Linked DNA regions of Homo sapiens: all the other regions are linked to region 1. The links are contacts of gene promoters, found by promoter capture Hi-C in human tissues and cell types (Jung and others, 2019). All regions are on one chromosome and are shown on one strand. The core of a region is centred on a gene start or on the middle of the fragment in contact, and the rest is flanking DNA. Distances in the headings are between cores, read along the strand shown. Region 1 holds the start of PRPF18 (pre-mRNA processing factor 18). Region 2 overlaps FRMD4A (FERM domain containing 4A). Region 3 has its middle 79 kb from the start of SEPHS1.

Region 1 (5,004 bases), core at 917-3,416:
GTGAACTTAGATCTGTCATCAGGAGCCTGACAGTTTCCTAATGCTTACAGATGTTTCTCAGATCAGTGGATATTAAATGAAGTGATCTTTTCATATTTTGTAATGAAATGTGTCAACAGGTGGGAGACCTGCATAATTCAGTAACCCAATGTTTTCCAAATGATCGATCAGTGAGTATTTTTAACGTTTCTCAGTTTTAACTTCTAATATGGTAAATACGGATAGAAATAACACATAAACAAAAGTCCTTCAAGATCTTCAGTAACTTTTAAGAGTGTGAAGGGGTCCTGAGACCAAAAGCTTTGAGAACCAGCGGTCTAAGTTACTGCTACACAATAAAGTAAGGGAGATCATCTTCAGGAAGTTCCTAAATCATGTAATTCTTTCTCCCCCTTTTTAGTACCTTTCCAAAAGAGTCTTAGCATTCCCATCAGTGAAGAGCAGGCCTACAGACTTTTCATGTGTTGAAGAAGAGAGAAGGAGGAGGAATAGAATTTAAAAAATTGGGATTTACTATTAGAAAGGAATTTTATTACTTTTTTTTTTTTTTTTTTAGAGACAGGGACTCGGTCTCTCACCCAGGCTGGAGTGCAGTGGCACGATGATAGCTCACTGCAGCCTGAACTCCTGGGCTCAAGCGATCCTCCCGCCTTGGTCTCCCAAGCAGCCGGGACTAGACGCGCGCACCACCACACCTGGCTAGAAGGAATTTTTTTTTTTTTTTGAGACGGTGTCTCACTCTGTCGCCCAGGCAGGAGTGCAGTGGTGCGATGTCGGCTCACGGCAACCTCCGCCTCCCGGGTTCAAGTGATTCTCTGGCCTCAGCCTCCTGAGTAGCTGGGATTACAGGCGCGCACCACCACGCCCAGCTAATTTTGGTGTTTTTAGTAGAGACGGGGTTTCACCATGTTTGCCAGGCTGGTCTCGAACTCCTGACCTCAGGTGATCTGCCCACCAAAGTGTGGGGATTACAGGTGTGAGCCACCGCGCCCGGCGGCCCTTCCTCCATGTTTCAGTTGGGCACAAACCCTTCGTAAGGCGACAGAAGGGAACTCTCAGGAGCACTGGGGCACGTCCGCAGAATGCCAACAGGTAGGAGCGGGGATAGGGGGCAGTTAGGTAAACTGGAGGGAAACAGGGTCAGTCGGGGGAAAACAAACAAAGCCTCGGGTTTTCCTGCAATTCCCACACCTGCATCCCTAAGGCTCCCAAGTGGTTACCGGAAAGAAGGCCGTGAGTGTAAGTTGCCCGGGTCCTTGGCGTTTTGAACAAAGAATTGGACAAAACGCACAAAAAAAGTAACAAAACACAGGAATGAAGCAGCAAAAGTAGGGACTTATGAACGCGAGAAAGCACTCCACAGGGTGTGAGTGGGCCCGAGCAAGCGGCTCGAGGCCCCGGTTACAAAGTTTTCCGGGTTTTAGGTACTCCTTCTGAGGTCCCTATCAGCTACCCCGTATCTGGATGAAGGGTTCGGTCTGTGGCTAAAGACTGAGGTGAACTGGCGCCCTATGCAGATGAAGGGATGGCCCGTGATTGGCCCACGGCCAATGCAGGGCACGTTCCCTTCCCATCTGAGAGGTGGTGGAAAGGCAGGGATGCGGGGAGAGCCGCAGCCTGAAGCCTTTGCTACTCGGTGGTGGGAAGATGAGGATTTTTCTTTTGGTTTGGCTTTTGGACGTGGGCGTTAATTGGCCTCAGGTTCCCGCCCCCAGACCCAGGTGTTTTCCTTTTGATCCAGCTTTGGGAAGTCAGCACGAATTGTACTCAAGTTCCCTGCTCTCAGACCCTATTCTCCAGCCTCAACAGTGAGACGCCAAGGGTTGGATCTAAGGGGGCCTACCAGGGGTAGTGGCAGGACACTCGCTAAGCCCCGTCCCCGCCCCGAATCCTCTGAGTATCGTCACCCTCACCCCAAAACCCCGACACACATACTCTCACTCTTACATCCCGACCCCCACGACCGCAGGGTCCTCACCACCAGCAGGTTCCTGTCCTCCACCAGCTGCCGCTTCCGAAGGATCTCTGATTTCAGAATGTCCATCTCGCCGCCAGAATTTAAGCTCCAGTTTCCCGCTCCAGCTCCTCGAACCCAGCCTCACTGGGCCGGCGGCCGCGAACCCACTGAGTATACGGAACAACAAGCCCAAACACCTGAGAACAACTGACAGGAGCCGCTTCCGGCGGAAGCTGGGATGAGAGAGATGAGGGAAGAGAGTGGCCCGGGGCGCCTGTGGTGGCCAAAGCAGCTGTGCGTGAGTGCCCACTGGCGGCGCCCTCCGGCAGCGCGCCTGTAGTTTCCCCTCGTAGGGAGGTTTACGTGAACGTGGACGGAAACCCGGGTCTTTGTAGTACTCTCTGCACCTGCTAGTTGAGTTCCAAAAGCCTCTCGAAGAACACCTCAATAATGCCAGTTAAATCAAGATCTTTATTAACTGGAAATTTACATTAGGGTTTCTGAAGTTACTTGCTTGCAAAATTTGCAAAAGGATGAGAAAAATCTAAACAATAATACTAACTTGTAACAATAGAGTGAAAGGGCTGTCTGTTCATTACTAGCCTGTTAAATTTCCTGTGAACTTAAACGACTACAACCATTTAAAGCAGTTTGGAAGTCAATTTATCTTCACTCCCTCTGTTTTAGATTGCTTACCAATCTTGGTGATAATTGAACATTTACCTCAAGCTAACTAATCATTTTTTGGTCATGTGTTCAGCAATCAAGATTTTTCAGTGACATGATTGGAGATGTAATCAGAAATTCCTTTTTTTTTTTTAAATCCAACCCAAGGGAAAAAAAGTTAAATTGAAGAGAAAAATTATGTCAGAGATTTTTTAAGTCCCTAACATTTGTTTACAGTGGACTTATTTTTTTCATGTCATTGAAGCACGTTTAAAAATTGTTTTTGTGAAATCATAATTGAACAATATTTGACATTTCGTTTTTCTTACTCAAAAAAGGTAAGAAATATCATTTTGTTGAGTCAGCTGATAATGGGTAAAATGCTTTACAAAACAAAAAAATGAACAATTGAATTATTTCAATTTAGAAAGTCTTTTGTGGGGGGTGATACTTCATCTAAAAGATATCTGAGGCCAGACGGGGTGGCTCACCCCTGTAATCCCAGAACTTTGGGAGGCCGAGGTGGACAGATCACCTGAGGTCAGGAGTTCAAGACCAGCCTGGCCAGCATGGTGAAATCCCGTCTCTACTAAAAATACAAAAATTAGCCAGGCGTGGTGGCAGGTGCCTATAGTCCTAGCTACTCAGGAGGCTGAGACAGGAGAATTGCTTGAATCCGGGAGATGGAGGTTGCAGTGAGCCGGGATCATGCCACTGCAGTCCAGCCTGGGTGATAGAGCAAGACTTTGTCTCAAAAACAAAACAAAATAAAATAAAATATACCTGACTTTTGCCAGAAATAAGCCAACACAGGAAAATGTCCTTGAACTAAATATGGCAACACTCTTGCATGAATATGGGTTTCCCTCACTAATCAATGAGCAAATAATAATTTATTAGCATTTTCCTGATTTAGGGATTAGGGATTGTTAGACACAAAAAAAACCTGAAGGGTTAAGACAGATGACAGTAACAGCAATGGAAGTTTACAGAGAACACAACGGCTGGCTACCTGGGAAACTGTCAGTGTAAACCAGAGAAGTTACTAGCTACAGTTAACAGCCTCCCCTTACATTTTAGACTTTCATTGATTTCTACGTTTATGTAAACATGTGCACTGAATCCTGATTAAGGCCTGAGATCAAAGAGTGATAGAGAGAAATACTTGAACAAGCAACTGACAAGCAAGCTTTTCCATTCAAAAGGAAGGAAAAAAGATATCCAGGAGCTTTTAGAAATACTTAAAAGAGGCCGGGCACAGTGGCTCACGCCTACAATCCGAGCACTTTGGGAGGCCAAGGCAGGCGGATCAGCTGAGGTCAGGAGTTTGAGACCAGCCTGGCCAACATGGTGAAACCCTGTCTCTACTACAAAAATAGCCGGGCTTGGTGGCACACACCTGTAGTCCCAGCTATTCAGGAGGCTGAGGCAGGAGAATCGCTTTAACCCGGGAGGCGGAGGTTGCAGTGAGCCAAGATCGCGCCACTGCACTCCAGCCTGGGTGACAGGGCAAGACTCTGTCTCAAAAAAAAAAAAAAAAAAAAAAAAGAAAAGAAAAGAAACACTTAAAAGAACAAATCGCCGTGACCCTAAGAGAGACCATATTCATTTAAAAAAACATGCATCCCATTTCATCACAATCATTATTTAAAAAGTGAAATATTGGGACTGGGTACAGAGGCTCACACTTGTAATCCCAGCACTTTGGGAAGCCAAGGCAGGAAGATCACTTGAACCCAGGAGTTCAAGGCTGCAGTGAGCATTGATCGCACCACTGCACTCCAGCCTGAGTGGCAGAGTAAGACACTGTCTCTAAAACAAAAATAAATAAATGAGAGATAAAAATGAAAAATTGGAAACAACCCAAGTGTTCTAAATGGAGGAATAGTTAAATAAAATATAGTTTATACACACAACCAAATAACATGGCATCATTAAAAACCATGTTTTTAAAAATTCAATGGTATGGGAATGCTCATGATACAATGTTCGGTCCAAAAGTAGCATAATGAAACTTTATAGCATATAGTCTCTGCTTTTTAACAAAAACATAGACATATGCTTCTTAACAAAAACATATAGACGTAATAAAACATTGATTGGAAGGAAACATACCAAAATATCAAGTTTTTATCTGGACAGTAGAACAATTGGGGATTCTTATTTTCTGCTTTTTACCACAATTTGGTACAAATCTCATAATATGGGGGGAAAATTCAGGTATCAGTCTTTTTCTGTTTAATTATTATTTAGACTATTTATAAATTTTCTAGCATGTCTATTTTAGACATTGTATATGATAAATTTTGAAGAGTATAAAAGAAAGCAAAGAATTAGATAAAGAATTTTTTAAATTTCCATAGTTATTCAATCTAATATTT
Region 2 (5,003 bases), core at 1,526-4,025, 150 kb before region 1:
TTTCCTGCCCCCGCTGGAGTTCGCACATTGGATGGGCAACCTGCAGGCTGCAGCCTGGTAACCAAGGCAGTGGGTCTTAGCATCCCAGCCAAGCCTCTGCAGTGACTAGCCAGGTAGCTTTCATCAATTTCTCCTCTGCAAAATGGGATGACATACACCAACCTACTTGAGACGGTAATTAAGAGAGGAAATACATAGTCACATTATGTCATTAAAAAGCAGTGAAAGCAGCATAATAATGCTGAGTTATGGTGCAAGAAGCCTTTCTGCTAATTCTCCCCATGCATTTAACAAGCATGGACTTTTCACACCGTGCGATTTCCCTGTTGAGGAGGCAACTGAGGCAGAAAGTTAGAATGATGTGCCCAGGGCCACAGAACAAGGAGGGATCAGGACCCTGACCTGGATTCTGCCTCGCGGGCCTAGTTTGTAAATGCTGGACCACCTGACCACCCCTATCGCCTCAATAAGGTATGCAGGGACATCTATTTTTAACCCCGAAACCACTGAGCACAGCAGGCCAGCAGCTGCTCCAAGACGGGGAACCATATCATATCACCATCCCTGTTTCCCCTTCCATCACCCATGCATTTCATGTATCCCCTTGTCTGCTGAGAGGTCATTTGACTTAACAACATGACCCAGCCAGCGACCTGGGCACAGGCAGCTTTGATCATTTGCCTTTTTCCTCCATGTAACCCTGTGTCCTCCAGGCAGCACTTACTCTGCTTCCTGGATTTCTGCTAGTTATCCCCTTGAGTCCCTGCTACAAATCTAGGGTATGGGAAAATTGTCTGCAAAGCTCAGAGCACTTCAGCCCTCTGGCAAGTTCCAGAGCAGAGGTGGGGACAGGCTGGGAGCAGAATAGGTTCTCGGTCAGGATTGAGCCTGTTCTTCCAGGATAAGCCCACCATGTTTAAGGGGGCAAAACAAGCAGGAAAAGCTGAGGATGGAGAAGGCAATTATTGTGGCTTCACAGATGGCCTCAGAGAGCAGGAGTTACAGGGCAAACAGGGGGCGGCAAAGATTTCTGCTGCTGTCGGCCACCCAGAACCCTGTGGTCAGGACATGTCGTGGTTAAACAGCGACGCGGCTTTCTGACAGTGGTTTTGACTTTCTTTCACTGGTGTTTCTCCTGAGCCTTCTGTGTGTTCATGGCTACAGTGCTATGTTGACTTGCACCTCCTGAACTCACCCCAGGGACCCTCTCTCCCTAGTGCTGCAAAGGAAAAAGGTCCCTATCTACACTGAGTTGCTTGACCCTGGATCTAGGAGTCGACTTCACAAAACCCCATGTCACGTGGTAGGAAACACGCCAAGGCAGCTGTTGATTTAGTGAGTGGGATGGAAGGAAGTGGAGCCGCTGAACCTCCTGACGCAGTTCTGCAGGATTAGTGAGGCTGGGCCTGCCCTTGGGGAGCATGCTTTTCGAGAATCGTCTTCAGGAGACGACCTTGTCACACTTGATATAGAACTTCCTCGGCATGTGGGAGCCAAGGAGAGAGATGGCTGGGTCTGCCCCTTTCTGAATAGAGGATATCCAGACCCCACAGAAGTGACTCTCCAACTGAGGCAAGGCCCCCTGTAGCTGGCTGGTCCTCATTCTGGGTATTTATAAAGACCCTTCTTTATCAAGACCTCTCACTGTCCTCTATGCATCAAATTCCAGAGTATTAAAATTAAAAGATACTAGTTGGAGGTTAAGGTAGTCATTGGAAGAGAAATAAATTACCCCCAAGGACTAGGTGATGAATGTGTAGAACCTGTTACCCCCAACACTGGCCTTGCTAAAACTGAAAACAAAAAGGTGGGTAAAAGAAGGCTTTAGGTAGATCCTGGGCTGATGGATAATAGATAATAGGGCCGGGTATAGTGACTCACACCTGTAATCCCAGCATTTCAGGAGGCTGAGATGGGCAGATTATTTGAGGTCAGGAGTTTGAGACCAGCCTGGTCAATGTGGTGAAACCTCATCTCTACTAAAAATACAAAAATTAGCCAGGCGTGGTGGTGCACACCTATAATCCCAGCTATTCGGAAGACTGAGGCAGGATAATTGCTTGAACTTGGGAGATGGAGGTTGCAGTGAGTCAGGATCATACCACTGCACTCCAGTCTGGGCGAGAGAGCAAAACCTTGTCTCAAAAATAATAGATAATAAAGATCCTCTATTGAGATCTCGAGGGTACACCCCTAGAATCAGCTCCCCTCACAGAGCTTTGACAGAGGACAGGGAGGGTGAAGAGGAGTAAGACCTGAGAGTGAGAACTGAGGTTCCAAGGCTCTGGGGCCAGACCAGGGAGACCGAGGTGTCGACTCCACACCTCAGCAGGTGGGGTTGGGGCTTTCTGCCTGCACCTGCTTCCCTGGGATTCCCCAGGTTGGCTCTGCCCTTCCGAAAGCGGGGGTGGGAGCGGCCGTATCTCCTACCTCATGGGCACCAGAGTCACTTCTCAGGAGGCGGGCTTGCCACTGCTGCCAAGGAGCCAGCTAACCTCTTGTTATATTAGAACTAGGATTTCAGCTGGGCGCGGTGGCTCACGCCTGTAATCCCAGCACTTTGGGAGGCAGGGGTGGGCAGATGACCTGAGGCCCGGAGTTTGAGACCAGCCTGGCCAACATGCAAAACCCCATCTCTACTAAAAATACAAAAATTAGCAAGGTGTGGTGACACACACCTGTAATCCCAGCTACTCAGGAGGCTGAGGCACAAGAATTGCTTTAAACTGGGAGGCAGAGGTTGCGGTGAGCCAAGATCGCTCCACAGCACTCCAGCCTGAGTGACAAGGGAGACTGCGTCTCAAAAACAAAAACAAAAACACCTAAGATTTCAAAAAAGGAGGGAGCGCCTGTCTAATTCTGGTAGCTGGTTTGCTGTTGTTCTCCAAGCATTCCTATGGGGCTTTTGTTGCTTCATGGTTCATATTAACCAAGCCCAAATTCCAGAACATTCCATCCTCCTGGAAAGCCTTCCATTCCTGACTACGCATTCAGAGCAGGTAGGCTGTGGGCACTTGGTTAAGGTCAATGCCTGCCATTCCCCCATGAGGCCCTGTGTGAACAGGACTGGGAAGATGAGGATAAGAAGGGCCCCAGGGAGCTCAGCCCGGGCATTCATGCGTCATCTCTGCTGTCTGCTTCCTCTTGTTCCCACGGTACCATTTCTTCCAAGGAGCTGATCCCAAAACCTGGGCTCCAGTCTTTTTGTTCTTTTGTTTTTTGTTTTTGAGCCAGGGTCTCACTCTGTCACCCAGGCTGGAATGCAGTGGTGCAATTGTAGCTCACTGCAGCCTTGACCTCCTGGGCTCAAGCAATCCTCCCACCTCAGCCTCCCAAGTAGCTGGGACTGCAGGCATACCCCACCATGCCTGGCTAATTTTTGTATTTTTGTATAGAGACAAGGTCTCACTGTGTTGCCCAGGCTGGTCTCAAACTCCTGGGCTCAAGCAATCCCCCCATGTCAGCCTCCCTAAACACTGGGATTACAGGGGTGAGCCACTGCACCCGGCCTGGGCTCCAGTCTTATATTTCTTGATTAGAAATCCAAGATAAGCCAGCCATGGTGGCTCACGCCTGTAATCCCAGTACTTTGGGAGGCCAAGGTGGGTGGATCACTTGAGGTTAAGAGTTTGAGACCAGCCTGGCCAACATGATGAAACCCTGTCTCTACTAAAAATACAAAAATCAGTCAGGTGTGGTGGCACGCACCTGTAGTCCCAGCTACTCTGGAGGCTGAGGCACAAGAATTGCTTGAACTCGGGAGGTGGAGGTTGCAGTGAACCAAGATCGCACCATTGCACTCTAGCCTGGGTGACAGAGCAAGACTCCGTCTCAAAAAAAAAAAAAAAAACAAACATCCAAGACAAAGAGAATGCAAGTCCTTTGTGGGGAAAACAGACTCTTTTTAAAGTAAATCTACATCCAAATAGATAGCACTCAGACCGAGTTTGGAAATACCACTCCAGGACAAATCATTTTTCCAGGAGCTGTTGGTGCCTTGGAGCTTCTTATGAGATGGGGCTGAGAAATATCTTACTGGCAGGAAGCTTGGCTGTTGACCTAGAGACTCCAACAACAGCATTCTTTTCTTCTAATTACAGTGAAGACAGAGTCATTGAGCACTACAAGAAACTGAACGGTCAGACAAGAGGTCAAGCAATCGTAAAGTAAGTGGCCCCTTCCCAGCTCACATGGGGACAGTGTTTGTGTGTGTTAATATATCGTATGTCAGGATTGTTCAGTTCCTCTCCAAAGACATATCTGGGAGTGGGGGGTGTATGTTTCCATTTAATTTTCAAGTAAATAATCACTCCGAGAACTTTATCACGTACACATACACAAATATATATATGATACCAGATCTGCTGAATAACTAGCCTTTTGCGCATTGTGTGTGTGTTTGTGTATCTTCGTGTTGTCATTCCAGCTACATGAGCATCGTGGAGTCTCTCCCAACCTACGGGGTTCACTATTATGCAGTGAAGGTGAGTAGACTCATTTGGTGAAGGTTACCAAACCTCCCCTAAGCAAACAAATCAAAACATCTCGTTATATGTTTTCTTCTTTTTCTTTTTCTTTTGAGATAGAGTCTTGCTTTGTCTCCCAGGCTGGTGTGCAGGGTGCGATCTTGGCTCACTGCAACCTCCACCTCCCGGGTTCAAGCGATTCTCCTACCTCAGCCTCCTGAGTAGCTGGGATTACAGGCATGCGCCACCACACCCAGCTAATTTTTGTATTTTTAGTAGAGACGAGGTTTTGCCATGTTGGCCAGGCTGGTCTGGAACTCCTGACCTCAGGTGATCTGCCTGCCTCGGCCTCCCAAAGTGCTGGGATTATAGGCGTGAGCCACCGCGCCTGGCCCTCATTGTTTTTTTCTTTATAATTCCTGGTGGGAATGGAGGTTGTGGAGGACTTGGTCAGGAAGATTGCACACTGCGGGGAGACAATTTCAAATACAGAAAACTTCATCCAGTTAACTTGCTTCAACCTGTGGTCCATTTCTT
Region 3 (5,000 bases), core at 355-2,854, 160 kb after region 1:
TAACTCTATGTTGAAATTTTTTTTTTTTTTTTGAGACAGGGTCTTGCTCTGTCACCCAGGCTGGAATGCAGTGGCACCATCATACCTCACTGCAGCCTCAACCACCTGGGTTCAAGCAATCCTCCCACCTTAACCTCCAGAGTAGCTGGGACTACACCACACCTGGCTAACTTTTTCTTTTTTAGAGGCTGAGTCTGACTATATTGCCCAGGCTAGTCTCAAACCCCTGGGCTCAGACCACCCTCCTGCCTCAGCTTCCCAAAGTGCTGGGATCACAGGTGTGGGCCACCACGCCTGGCCTATATTGAACTTTTTGGGGAAATACCTGTTTCCCAAAGAATCTGAACCATTTTACATTCCTACCAGCAATGTATGAGGGATCTGATGTCTCCACACACTTGCTAATACTTGTGATTGTTTGTTTTCTTATAGCCATCCTAGTGAGTGTGAAGTGGTACCTCACTGTGGTTGTGATTTGCATCTCTCTGGTGATTAATAATGCTGAGCATCTTTTTAAAATATATATTTTTACATTTTTTATATTTAATTGACAAATAACAATTGTATATAACTATGGGGTATGATGCGACACTTTGATATATGTGTACATTACGGAACGATCAAATCTAGCTAATTTACCTATTCATCACCTCACACACATCATTTTCTGTGATGAGAACATTTGAAATACATTCTCTTAACAATTTTGAAATATACTATACTTTAACTACAGTCACCATGCTGTGCAATAGATCTCAAAAACTTATTCTTTCTATGTAACTGCAACTTCGTATCTTTCGACCAACACCTGATTCCCTCCCCACTCCACCATCCCCCACTCCCAGCCCCTGGTAACCACCATTTTACTCCACATCTAAGGATTCAACATTTTTAGGTTCCACATAGAAGTGAGGTCACACAGGGCCGGGCAAGGTGGCTCACACCTGTAATCCCAGCACTTTGGGAGGCCAAAGCGGGTGGATCACCTGAGGTCAGGAGTTCGAGATTAGCCTGGCCAACATGGTGAAACCCCGTCTCCACTAAAAATACAAAAATTAGCCGGGCATGGTGGCACATGCCTATAATCCCAGCTACTCAGGAGGCTGACCCAGGACAATCGCTTGAACCCAGGAGGCGGAGGTTGCAGTGAGCTGAGGTCTTGCCATTGCACTCCAGCCTGGGTGATGAGCGAAACTCTATCTCAAAAAAAAAAAAAAAAAAAAAAAAAGTGAGGTCACAGAGTATTTGCCTTTCTGTACCTGGTTTATTTTATTTGGCATAGTGTCCTCCAGACTCATCTGTGTTGTCACAAATCACAGGATTTCCTTTTTAATAGCTGAATATGCCCCCATTGTGTATATAGACCAAATTTTCTTTATCCATTGATGGACACTTAGCTTGATTTCCCATCTTGGCTGCTGTGAATAGTGCTGCCATGAATATGAGAGTGCAGGTATCTCTTCAACAGACTGATTTTAATTCCTTTGGATATGTACCCAGTAGTGGAATTGCTGGATCATGTTCTATTTTTAGGTTTTGGGGGATCTTCCATACTGGGGTGTCTGGAGTTGGTTCCTGTCGGTGGGTTCGTGGTCTCGCTGACTTCAAGAATTGAGCTGTGGACCTTCGTGGTGAGTGTTACAGCTCTTAAAGATGGCACAGACCCAAAGAATGAATGGTAGCAAGTTTTATTGTGAAGAGTGAAAGGACAAAGCTTCCACAGCATGGAAGCGGACCCCAGAAGGTTGTTGCCTGCTGGCTGGGGTGGCCAGCGTTTATTCCCCTTATTGTCCCCACCCATGTTCCCTTTCTGTCCTATCAGAGTGCCCTTTGTTCAATCCTCCCCGCAATTGGCTACTTTTAGAATCCTGCTGATCGGTGCATTTTACAGAGTGCTGATTGGTGCGTTTTACAGAGTGCTGATTGGTGCGTTTTACAATCCTCTTGTAAGACAGAAAAGTTCCTGATTGGTGCGTTTTACAGTCCTCTTGTAAGACAGAAAGTTCCCCAAGTCCCCACTCCACCCAGGAAGTCCAGCTGGCTTCACCTCTCACTGTTATCCATAGCGGCTGTACCAATTTACATTCCCACCAACAGTGGACAAGGGTTGCCTTTTCTCCGCATCCTTGGCTACACTTGTTATCTTTGATCTTTTTGATGATAGCCATCCTAACAGGTGTGAGGTGACAGCTCATTGTGGTTTTAATTTGCATTTCTTTTTTATTTCAGTAGCTTTAGGGGTACAAGTAGTTTTTGGTTACATAGATGAATTGTACAGTGGTCAAGTCTGAGATTTTAGTACCCATCACCCAAGTAGTGTACACTGTACCCAATATGTAGTTTTTCAATCCCTCACCCCCTCCCACCCCCTCTTTCTGAGTCTTCGATGTCCATTATATCTTTGCATATGCCTTTGCATACCCATAGCTTAGCTTCCACTTATGAGTGACAACATGTGGTATTTGGTTTTTCATTCCCAAGTTCCTTCACTTGGAATAATGACCTTCAGCTCTATCCAAGTTGCTGCAAAAGACATTCTTTCTTTCTTTTTTATTGCTTAGTAGTATTCTATGGTATATGTATATTACATTTTCTTTATCCACTCATCTCTTGATGGGCACTTAGGTTGATTCCATATCTTTGCAATTGTGAATTGTACTACAATAAACATATGCATACTGTTGTCTTCCTGATATAATGACTTCTTTTCCTTTAGGTTGATACCCAGTAGTGGGATTGCCGGATCAAATGGTTCATCTGCTTGTAGTTCTTTCAGAAATCTCTATACTGTTTTCCACAGAGGTTGTACTAATTTACATTCCCACCAGCGGGATATAACCATTCCCTTTTAACTACATCCACACCATCTATTGCTTTTTGACTTTTTAATAATGGATATTCTGGTTGGGTAAGGAGGTATCTCACTGTGGTTTCAATTTGCATCTCCCTGATGATTAGTGATGTTGAGCATTTTTTCGTTGTTGGGCATTTGTATATCTTCTTTTGAGAAATGTCTATTCATGTCATTTACCTACTTTTTGATGGGATGATTTGGTTTTTTTCTTGCTGCTTTGTTTGAGCTCCTTGTAGATTCTGGATACTAGTTTTCTGTCAGATATATAGTTTGCAAATATTTTCTCCCATTCTGTGAATTGTCTGTTTACTCTGGTGATTATTTCTTTTGCTGTGCTGAAGGTTTTTAGTTTAATTAGGTCCCATGTATTTATTTTTGTTTTTATTGCATTTGCTTTTGGGAACTTAGGCACAAATTCTTTGCCTAGGCCAATGTCCAGAATAGTTTTTCCTAGGTTTTTTCCTAGAATTTTTGTAGTTTCAGGTCTTAGGTTCAAGTCTTTAACCCATCTTGAGTTGATTTTTTATATGGTGAGAGATAGAGATCTGGCTTTATTCTTCTACATGTGGCTATCAAGTTTTCCCAGCATCATTTATTGAATAGAGTGTCCTTTCTTCAATTTATGTTTTTGTATGATTTGTTGAAGATCAGTTGGTTGTAAGTATTTGACTTTATTTATGGGTTTCCCATTCTGTTCCATTGGTCTATGTATCTACTTTTATACCTGTACTATGCTGTTTTGGTAACTACAGACTTGTAGTATAATTTATAAAGTAATATGATGCTTCCAGATTTGTTCTTTTGCTTAGGATTGCTTTGAACTATTTGGGCTCTTTTTTGGTGCCATATGAATTTTAGGATTGTTTTTTCTAATTCTGTGAAAAAACAAAGTTGGTATTTTTATATGAATTGCATTGAATATGTAGATTGCACTGGGCAGTATGGTCATTTTCATGATATTGATTCTCCAATCCATGAGCATGGGATGTGTTTCCATTTGTTTGTGTCATCTATGATTTCTTCAGCAGTATTTTGTAGCTCTCCTTGTAGAGAACTTTCATCTTCTTGGTTAAGTATATCCCTAGGGTTGTTTTTGTTTTGTTTTTTGCAGCTATTGTGAAAAAGACTGAGTTCTTGATCTGATTCTCAGGTTGGCCGTTGATGAGTAGCAGTACTACTGATTTGTATACATTAATTTTGTAACCTAAGACTTTACTGAATTCATTTATCAAATCTAGAAGTATTTTGGAGAAGTCTTTGGGGTTTTCTAGGTATACAATCATATCATCAGCACACAGAGATAGTTTGACTTCTTTTCCAGTTTGGATGTCCTTTCTTTCTCTTGCCTGATTGCTCTGGCAAGGATTCCTTCATTTGCATTTCTCTGACCTGAACATCTTTCTCTGTGCTTATTGCAAAACAGAATTCTTATCTCTGTCTTGCTTAAGAGGGTACTGATCCTCAAAAAGTTTACGTGCCTTCCCAAAAACCATATAATAAAAATAGAATAATTGTTTAAATGCAGGCTCTGGAGCCAAAATCCTGGCTTTTCTACTTATTATCTGTGATGCTCAGGCCTCAGTTACCTCATCTGTGAAATGGGAGCAATCATAACTGCCTAAAAATGTGTTGTGAGATTCAGAAATAAAATGTCAAATTAACACCGCTACCTGACCCCTAAGAGAGTCACCGTATAAATGGCAGCACAATTATCATCTTCCGACAAGGCAGGGTAAGGGCTGCAAGATGTGAGGCAGATTCTCCTGACCATTCTTGCCTCTGCATGGTGGTGGACTGGCCTCTCCCTTTGCTGAATGTTTTTCCCACAGATATTAGATCAAATCTAGAGTTGTAGTTCACGGAGGGAAACAGACAAACGGGAAATCTGTATCCCTCTTGATCCCAGATCAGTTGTTTAGAGAGCCCAAATAAGCTCCCGTGGTGGTACTGAGTGCCGGAATCAGAAGGAAAACAAAAAAAGAGTTCTTATTTTTTGGGATGATCTTTGTTTTTGTCAGTCCAGGTTGCTGTAACAAATTACCATAGGCTGGGGGGCTTAAACAATGAACATTTATTTCTCATAGTTCTGGAGACTGGAAGTCTGAGATCAGGGTGCCAACATGATCGGGTTCCAGGCAAAGGCCCT

What was found. Contacts are between HindIII fragments. The study calls those that stand out against the background at their distance.
Region 2: a fragment that was not itself captured here is called in contact with the fragment with the promoter of PRPF18 in region 1 in 1 of the 25 tissues and cell types used here (aorta).
Region 3: a fragment that was not itself captured here is called in contact with the fragment with the promoter of PRPF18 in region 1 in 1 of the 25 tissues and cell types used here (thymus).

What each region holds. Positions count from the first base shown.
Region 1 is chr10:13,584,127-13,589,130 of GRCh38, reverse strand. It overlaps PRPF18 (pre-mRNA processing factor 18), which reads right to left and starts at 2,166. Exons shown (of 10, transcript NM_003675.4): 1 at 1,979-2,166. The coding sequence starts at 2,044. RefSeq lists enhancers at 1,101-1,696, 1,872-2,211. The HindIII fragment of the contact is 7,227 bases long and covers 1-5,004 here.
Region 2 is chr10:13,739,675-13,744,677 of GRCh38, reverse strand. It overlaps FRMD4A (FERM domain containing 4A), which reads left to right. Exons shown (of 25, transcript NM_018027.5): 10 at 4,101-4,166; 11 at 4,427-4,484. Among named protein-coding and RNA genes, the nearest start is that of PRPF18, 160 kb to the right of the region's middle. RefSeq lists an enhancer at 1,152-1,391 and a silencer at 4,015-4,309. The HindIII fragment of the contact is 3,959 bases long and covers 796-4,754 here.
Region 3 is chr10:13,425,026-13,430,025 of GRCh38, reverse strand. No RefSeq gene overlaps it. Among named protein-coding and RNA genes, the nearest start is that of SEPHS1, 79 kb to the right of the region's middle. The HindIII fragment of the contact is 5,427 bases long and covers 1-4,317 here.